Linked DNA regions of Homo sapiens: region 2 is linked to region 1. Evidence: promoter capture Hi-C in human tissues and cell types (Jung and others, 2019). All regions are on one chromosome and are shown on one strand. Each heading gives the region's core, a stretch centred on a gene start or on the middle of the fragment in contact. The rest is flanking DNA. Distances are from core to core; before and after follow the strand shown.

Region 1 (4,660 bases), core at 671-3,170:
TTTAAAGGAAAACCTTGTAATATTGATCTTGTTGTTTCTGCAGTTTAATAAACAAGAAGGTTCAAAATGATGGTAGGTTCAGCCTGTTTTTCCCCACCAAGGATAACCACAAATACAAAACACAAAGATATTGGGACACAAACATCCTTAAAATGTTCCTTGTTTGAATATCATAGGGCTTTTCTAATTAATTGGCTAGTATAACTGGATGAAAATATTATCTATACTGTACCCCAACAAAAATACGTTGAATGCTAGTTTACTTTTATGTGTCTTGTAACTAGTTCATCCGTGTGCTTGCATCGCACTGCTCATAAGTTTTCAAATATGGGACGGAGTGCTCAACTCTCGAAGACATCATTTTCATTACCCGTTTCCCAAATAAAATATTAAGGTTGAGGCTCTGGTATTTCATTTCAAATAGTACTGGTCTGTTTTTCCAGCCATGAAAACGTTTACATTCTAAGTAAAAATCCTAGCGATGGTTAAGTCTTAAATACAAATCCCCAAACTCTTGCACTGCCTTCAGCTTTCAGCTTGAATGTATAACCAGTTCCCATAATTACTACAATATTACTATTATCTTAGTCTCATTGCCAAAAACCCAGCTGCAGGCTAACTATGCAAGAATGAGACACTGTTGAAATGACTCGGAAAAAAAAAAAAAAAGAAACTTTACCCTCACTGAATTTAGCTACAAAATTCTGCAATTAAATGAAACCAATTCACACACACACACACACACACACACACACACACACACACCCCTTCTTCTAAGAAAGAACAGGATGCCGCTACACAAGGAACCCAGAGAGAAATTCGGCAAACAGTTGCGCCTAAGCCACCGCGGCAGAGTCGGGGGCTGGGGGCGGGGAAGAGGAGAAAACTTGGGAAGCACAATGACTCCAGTGAGGACTTCAGTGAGGGCTCCAGGGCTCCCGCCAAGAAGCCCACGGGGCTCTACCAAACTTGAGGGTTTGCGTTCGGGGACACGGCGGGCTTGGGGCTCGGGCACCGGCAGGCCGCTCGGAGCCCACCCTTGGCTGCCCGCGAGGCCGCGCCCGGGGGACGGAGGTCGGGCCGTCGCGAGCCTCCCTCTCGCGTCCGGGCGAACCCTGCCGACGTCCCTGCGATTTCCCTCTTCCTCCTCCTGCCTCTCCCCTTTTGTTTTTCAGGCATTGGGTCCGCTCCGGCGGAGGCCGGCCCGTCCTCCCCGCGCCTCTGTCCGCCCTGCGCGCCCCCAGAGCCCCGGCCTCCTCGTCTTCCTCAGGCCCCTCGGCCTCTCCGCGCGCCCGGCCTTTTCGAAAGCCGCCCCCCCCTTCCTCCTCACGTCTCCCGGACTCCCCACGTCCCCCAGCCTTTCTGTCTTCCCCGAACCCCTTGGCCTCCCCGCGCGCCCCCAAAACCCCCGACCTCCTCGAGCTCCCGGCCTCCCCACGTCCCTCAGCCTCCCAGTCTTCCCCAAGCCTCCCGACCACCCAGCGCCCCGAACCCCCGCCTCCCAGCGCGCCCCCTGACCTCCTTAAGCCTCTCGGCCTCCGCGAGGGCCCCCAACCTCCTCACGGCCACCGGCCTCCCCTCCTCCCAGAACCCGGGCCGGGGGCGCGGGAGGGGCCGGTCTCCGCCGCATCCGCCCCGGGACTGGTTGGGCGGCCCCGCTCTGCCCCTCCGCCCTCAGGGCCGCGGCCCAGCCCACGACCGCTGCACAGAAGGAGCCCGCCCAGCCCCCGACCCGCGCCCCGCGCCCGGCGCCCCGCACTCACTCGGACCGCGGCTCGGCGCCGTGAAGCGAAGGCAGACGACGACGGGGCGGCGCTGGGCGACAGCAGCCGCGCTTCCTCCCACGCCTCACGCCGCGGGCTCACAGTGGTCCGGGACCGGCGGCGGCGGCGGCGGCGCGGGCTCGCGCCCTCGAGGCCGTGCTGCGTCGGCGCGGGCCCGCGCGCGTGCGCGGCAGCCGGCTGAGGCGCGCGTCCTCTCTCGGCAGCGCACGCCCGACCCGGTCTCAGTCCGGAGTTCCCGCCTCTCGGGGGGACTGGGCATGCGCGCCGCCCCCGCGCATGCCCAGCGCGCCGCTAGGCTCTGCTCGCGTAATTTGTCCTGTAGTGACCGCGCCGGGGTTTCGGGGTGGCCCGAGGCTGCGCGCGGGCGTGGCGGCCGGACGAGGAAAGCCCTGGTCTCGGGGGTGGCCGGGGTCGCCCCGCCGAGCGGACATCCTGGGGTCCCACCTGCCTCGCTCTCCGCCAGCGGGATTAGACGGACTTCGGGAAAGTCCTCCCCATCTCCTTCCCTGCCCCCAAATCCCGAAGGGGTCCCCTCTGGAGAACCTCCCTCCTGAGCGGCCCTGCGGCCCCGCCCCCAGAGTTGGACGCCCGCTGTCGGGCACCCGCTGCGGGCCCCGGGCCTTGCAGTGCACTCTCCAGGCACCACACCGACCCTAACGAGCGGTTCCTGGGCCCTTTTTGCAGACAAGGAAACTGAGGCTCAGAGATTCTTTTCATGGCATTATAGCTAAGTTGGGCTGGGCCATTATTTGATTTTGGAAGATGAAAAATCATGAAAGGGACTTAGAAGTCCACTGGAGGTAGACAGGTTACCTAAATGAACGCCAGCAGGGAACGAGCCCTGCAATCCCTCCCGAGGGCTACAGACCTGAGACGGGCTCCAGGAAAAGGAGGGAAGGCTCGCCCCGACACCGACCCGGGCTTCCGCGGTGTGAGCCAGTTTCAGCGAGGAGCTAGTTGGTTATGACCGGAACGTGCCGTAGGTGGGGTGGGGGAAATAGCAAAAGGCGAGGTTGGAGGGATTGAAAAATGCAGACGGCTGCGTGGGGCTTGCTTAGGTGCCTGGAGTTTATTCTTTAGGCAACAGGGAACCTTTGGAGGGCTTTAAGCAGGAAGTGATAACTGATTTGTGTTATTTAAAAAAAAAAAAAAGTCACTCTGGCAACCTTGTGGTCGGAAATGAAACCAGAAGAACCCTCAAGGCTGCAACTTTCATTTTTATGGTGTCATTTTGATGCTAACCACAAGCCAGGAAGCAGGACAGACAGGCACCGAGGCCTTTTGAAAGGTGAACACCCTGAAGCCCAGAGAGGTGACACACGTCATTGCATTAGGAGCTTTTATAAAAGTAAAAATGAAGTAAAATAAAAAGCTTTTGCTTATCAAGATTTTACCATATTTAAATGTTTGGGTTGTATTGTTCTTTAATGAGATGTATTAAGGTTGGTGTTTTTCTGGGTTTTGTTACTTTTTACTACATATGAAATTGTAAGGAATTGCCTCTCCATGCCAGCCTCAGGCCTTTGCGCGTGCTATTTGCTCTGCCTGGAACTTCTTGCTCCTCACTTCGTTCAATACCCTGCTTATATATCACCTCATTGATACAGCCGACCACTTCATATAATAGGAACCACCCACTGCCCTGCTATCCTCACACACAGTCCGCACTTAGTCTGCTCTGTTGTTCTCCAAAGCACCTATTGTTCACCATAGCCCAACACTGTGTTCTTGTTTATTTCTTGATTGTCCGCTCTCTCCACTAGAATCTTAGATTCATTAGAGCACGGGCTTTGTTTTGTTCACTAATAGGTCCTGGCACACAGTAAGTATTTGTCAAGTGAATGAACGAAGCTTTGGGTGATGTGAAGTGAGAGCTTATTATTAAAAGGATAAGAAAAGCATGGGAATTAAAAGAGGAGAGTGGAGGCACAAAGGGACTGCATTAAGGATAACTTTGGGGGAAGGGGCTGCACTTAGCATAGTAGACTAAAAATGGCCATCAATTCTTTGACACTTTTCCCAAGAAGAGGTGGAATTTATTCACCCCTTGAATGTGGATGGGATCTTGTAACTTGCTTTGACCAATGGGATGTGTCACAAGTGACATTGTACAAATTCCAAGCCTAGGCCTCAAGAGGCCATGCTGCTTTCATTTTCCCCCCTTAAGCCCAAGCTAGCCTCACGAGGAGGCCGTGTGGAAGAGAACTGAGGCACCCTGGCCAACAAGGTGCCACCTCCAGACATGTGAGTGAGCTGTACTAGACCACCCAGCCCCTGTGAAGCATACATAAGACCTGGAGAGACTGATGGAAGAACTGCCCAGCTGAATCCAACCCAAATTGCCAAACCACAGAATTGTGAGCCAATAAAATACATGTGGTTTTAAGCCTTTAGGTTTTAGGGTAGTGTGTTACACAATATTGTTTCCTGGACTCTGCCACGATACATTTGAAATTGACGTTCTTGAAGGGCAGCTTTGGTTATTATTATGCTTAGTAAAAGAAGAAATCAGAAAACGGCGGGAAGAAGTGATGCAAAGGAGAAGGGCAAACAGAGATACAAACGGGAAAAGGGACAAACCTAGGAAACAGTGGCTTGTCTTACCTCTTGGGCACACTTTGTGGTGCCTGAGAACTCAGGTTTAGGAGTAAGATGAACATTGGCACAGACCCAGGCTTAAGTTTAACCATTCACCAATAAACCTGTGAAGGTTGTATAATGTCTCTGAGCCTCAATTTCTCATCTGTGAAATGGAGGCTCTAAAGGATGTACATTAGAATTAGGCTGTAGAGAGGCCGGGCACGGTGGCTCACACCTGTAATCCCAGCACTGTGGGAGGCCAAGGCGGGTGGATCATGAGGTCAGGAGATTGAGAC
Region 2 (4,660 bases), core at 606-3,105, 530 kb before region 1:
AAAATATATATATATATATATATATATATATAACATAGATATGCTAATAGAACAAATATAAGTGGCTGCCTTATATTATATGTTTATATTATATATAATTGGAACAACTGGTGAAACTTGAATAGAGCCTGAGGATCCTGTGGCAGCCACGTATGGATGTTACTGTCCTGACCTTGAGGGCTGTGTTGTGGTTATGCAGAATATCCTTGTTTGTGGAAAAGACACAGTCAGCTCTCCAGGGGCGCTGGGGTATCCCTCAGCTACTTACTCTAAACCAATTCAAGAAAATGAGTTATTTGTACTGTACTTGCGACTTAAGTTTGAAGTCGTTTCAGAAATTATTAAAAAGAGGATTCCAGAGAAAGTCCAAGCCGTTAAAAATACCCCATGATTTTCCTGGCCTGACTCAGAACTACTGAATGAAAACACTGGGGGCGTGGCCTTGAGATGTGTGTTTTCCAAAGCACAGCCGGGTCTGGAAAGCAGCTACTCCCCACGGGCTGGGAGAGGGAAGCACAGCCTGTGCACACAGACCGGTTCCTCTCATCCTCCTTTCATCCACATCACCATCCAGCAGCTACGAGAATTCGTTCCACACAAGTTGCCTGGTTCAATTCTGCCTCCGCTGATCTCTGAGGTTTTTTGTTTTGTGTTGTTTTTTTGAGATGGAGTTTCGCTCTTGTTGCCTAGGCTGGAGTGCAATGGCGCTATCTTGGCTCACTGCAACCTCTGCCTCCCGGGTTCAAGTGATCCTCCTGCCTTGGCCTCCCAAGTAGCTGGGATTATAGGCGCCTGCCACCACGTCAGGCTAATTTTTTGTATTTTTAGTAGAGACAGGGTTTTACTATGTTACCCAGGCTGATCTCGAACTCCTGACCTCAGATGATCCACCCACCTTGGCCTCCCAAAGTGCTGGGATTACAGGCATGAGCCACCGTGCCCGGCTGAGGCATTGTTTCCCATTCCTGTCAATAAGCTGCAGGCCTTCTCCCTCCCACTTCAAAAAGTACCACTCTCAACTAAGAAAACTGAGATCCTCTTTAGAAGTGTTCCTCTCAGAGCACTCCCCAAGGAAGCTCTGGGGTGCCTGGCAAATGAGAAGCTTCTGAGAGCCTCAGTCGGTCCAGCCCCACATTCCTGGTGCTTTATGGTCCCCTTTGCTTTGACTATTAAGACACAGTCCTGACCTGGTGCGGTGGCCCATGCCTGTAATCCCAGCTCTTTGGGAGGCCGAGGCGGGTGGATCACCTTAGGTCAGGAGTTCAAGACCAGCCTAGCCAACATGGTGAAACCCTGTCTCTACTAAACACAAAAATTAGCCAAGCGTGGTGGCGGGCAACTGTAACCCCAGCTACTCAGGAGGCTGAGGCAGGGGAATTGCTTGAACTCAGGAGGCAGAGGCTGCAGTGGGTTGAGATCATGCCACTACACTCCAGCCTGAGCAACAGAGCGAGACTCTGTCTCAAAAAAAAATACATAGGAGTTGTGGCCTGTGGTGGGGAGTGGACTTGAGGGGCCTCCTCCCCATCCCTCACAATCCACAGGAAACCTGCTCCAGCTCTGCCTAGCTCGGGACAAAGAGTACTGCCTTTCCTCTTTTCTGCCTGGACCCACCCTGCTCCAGCTTTGCCATCAGTCTTTATGCACCCACATATCCCCATAAGCCAGTTCAGGGGCCCCAGGAAGGCAAACCTCAATAGGACCTTATAAGGCTTCCTGATGGTGGGATGCAACACTCTGAACATACTAAAAGCCAATGAATCATACTCTAAATGGGTGAATTTTCTAACAGGTGTCTTCTATCTCAATAAACCTGTTCAAAACAAAGCGCTTCCTGCCTACCAGTCCATCCTCACTGGCTGCAGTTCCCAACCTCATACCATGGTTCAGCCTTGCTAAACTACTTGTTTTCTGGATGTCACTCTTCCGTCCCATCCTCATTTACTTGCTCTCAAACCTTTTTTTTTCACTTGCTCTCAAACTTTTTTTTTTTTTTGAGACAGAATCTTGCGCTGGGTGTGGTGGCTCACGCCTGTATTCCCAACACTTTGGGAGGCCGAGGCAGGCGAATCACGAGGTCAGGAGATTGAGACCATCCTGGCTAACATGGTGAAACCCCGTCTCTACTAAAAATACAAAAAATTAGCCGGGCGTGGTGGCGGGCACCTGTAGTCCCAGCTACTCGGGAGGCTGAGGCAGGAGAATGGCGTGAACCTGGGAGGTGGAGCTTGCAGTGAGCCGAGATCGCGCCACTGCACTCCAGCCTGGGCGACAGAGCGAGACTCCGTCTCAAAAAAAAAAAAAAAAAAAAAGAATCTTGCTCTGTCGCCCAGGCTGGAATGCAGTGGCACAATCTCGGCTCACTGCAGCCTCTGCCTCCTGGGTTCAAGCGACTCTTCTGCCTCAGCCTCCCAAGTAGCTGGGATTGCAGGCATATGCCACCATGCCTGGCTAATGTTTTTGTATTTTTGTATTTTTAGTAGAGACGGGGTTTCCCCATGTTGGCCAGGCTGGTCTCAAACTCCTGACCTCAGGTGATCCGCCCACCTTGGCCTCCCAAAGTGCTGGGATTACAGGCGTGAGCCACCGCGCCTGGCCAAAGCCAATTTTTAAAAAGTGAAAAACAAATATAGAGGGGATTGTAGCATCTAGACATGTTTTCACCGTAAACAAATAGAAAACCGGGGGTAGGGGGCAGAAAAGGGAACTGTTTTCAGACTCGACAACAGGCAGCTCAGGACTGTTCCCTGAGAAACAAACAAATGAGAAATAAACAAGTGGAGCTTTGTGCTCACTGGGCTTTCTGCCTGGAGTCTATATCTGATCCATGGTACAGAGGGCGGGAACTCAAACAAAGGCCACCAGTGTCACCCAGTTGAGGAGACAGAGAATGGACAGAAAGGAGCTAGGGAGAGGTAACCCAAAAAGTTGTGTATGAGCTACTGGGCTCACCGCTGAGATGTGCACACATGGATCAGAATGGCTGAAATTAGGCCTGGCAGGGTGGCTTACACCTGTAATCCCAGCACTCTGGGAGGCCAAGACAGGAGAATCACTTGAGCCCAGGAGTTTCAGACCAGCCTGAGCAGTGTGGTGAGACCCCGTCTCTACAAAAAATCAACAAATTAGCCAGGTGTGATAAAGCATGCCCATAGTTCCAGCTACTCAGGAGGCTGAGGTAGGAGGCTCTCTGGCTTGGGAGGTCGAGGCTGCAAGTGAGCTATGATTGTGTGACTGTACTCCTCCAGCCTGGGTAACAGAGTGAGACCCTATCAAAAAAAAAAAAAAAAAAAAAAAGCTAAAATTCAAAGACTCATGACACCAAGTGTTAGGGAGACACTGGAATTCTCATGCATTGCTGGTGGGAATGTAAGATGTACAAGTACTTTGGAACAAGGTCTGGCGATTTTTTATAAAATTAAACATATGCTTACTTTTTGCCCCAGCCATTCAGTGTCTAGGTATTTATCCAAAATAAATCAAAACAACCATATGTTCACCAAAATACTTGTCCAAGAATGATGACAGCAGCTTTATTTAAAATTGCTGCCAGGCGCGGTGGCTCAGGCCTGTAATCCCAGCACTTTGGGAGGCCGAGGCAGGCGGATCACGAGGTCAGGAGATCGAGACCATCCTGGCTAACAGGGTGAAACCCCATCTCTACTAAAAAATACAGAAAACTAGCCAGGCGTGGTGGCAGGTGCCTGTAGTCCCAGCTACTTGGGAGGCTGAGGCAGGAGAATGGCATGAACCCGGGAGGTGGAGCTTGCAGTGAGCCAAGATCACACCACTGCACTCCAGCCTGGGCGACAGAGTGACACTCTGTCTCAAAAAAAAAAAAAAAAAATTAGCCAGGTGTGGTGGCAACTGCCTGTAGTCCCAGCACTCTGGGAGGCTGAGGCAGGAGAATGGCTTGAACCCAGGAAACAGAGGTTGCAGTGAGCTGAGATCGCACCATTGCACTCCGGCCTGGGTGACACAGCAAGACTCCTTCTCAAAAATAAATAAATAAATAAACAAAATAAATAAATAATTAATTAAAAAATAAAATTGCCAAAAATTGGACATAACTCAAGTTGTCTGTCAATGAGAAGACTGATAAATAAACTGTTGTATATTCCTATATACATTGTATTTATCCTCAGAACAATACTACTAAGCAATAAACATAAACCACTGATACGCGCAATGGCATGGATGACTCTCCCCAAGGGAAGCTGAGCAAAGAAAGCTGCAAACCGTGGAGTTCATGCCATGTGGGTCTGTTTACGCAAAGTACAAGAACAGACAAAACTCATCCAAGGTGCAAAAAATCAGATACCTGACCCCATAGGTCTCCTTCTTGGTTCCCCTGGAAATGCATCCGTCTCAGTCAGCTTCCCCAAGAGATCAGCACAGCCAGGGCAGGCCCATTCTGATAAAGAGAGTTCCCATTTCCTAAAAAGGATGAGTGCAGGGGTTAGCTTGTCCACTCAGTCCCTGGGAAAGTCGTGTCAGGCCCTGGGTCCCAGCTGGGTACCCAACAGTGAGTCAGGTGGACACAGTCCCCACTGCGGGGAGCCCTGCAGCCTTTTCAGGGAAACAATAAAACAAAGGGTGTTCACAGGACTCATCCATGTGTTATAAACGGAATTCTGTCCTCTCTAAATTCATACGCTGA

The links. The method cuts DNA at HindIII sites, captures the fragments that hold promoters and counts their contacts. A contact is called where the count stands out against the background at its distance.
Region 2: a contact is called between a fragment that was not itself captured here and the fragment with the promoter of PTK2 in region 1, in 1 of the 25 tissues and cell types used here (dorsolateral prefrontal cortex).

The regions. Positions count from the first base shown.
Region 1 is chr8:140,999,362-141,004,021 of GRCh38, forward strand. PTK2 (protein tyrosine kinase 2) reads right to left here and starts at 1,921. Exons shown (of 36, transcript NM_001352702.2): 1 at 1,764-1,921. RefSeq lists silencers at 1,586-1,915, 1,936-2,355. The HindIII fragment of the contact is 8,254 bases long and covers 1-3,395 here.
Region 2 is chr8:140,469,189-140,473,848 of GRCh38, forward strand. No RefSeq gene overlaps it. Among named protein-coding and RNA genes, the nearest start is that of TRAPPC9, 14 kb to the left of the region's middle. The HindIII fragment of the contact is 8,196 bases long and covers 1-4,660 here.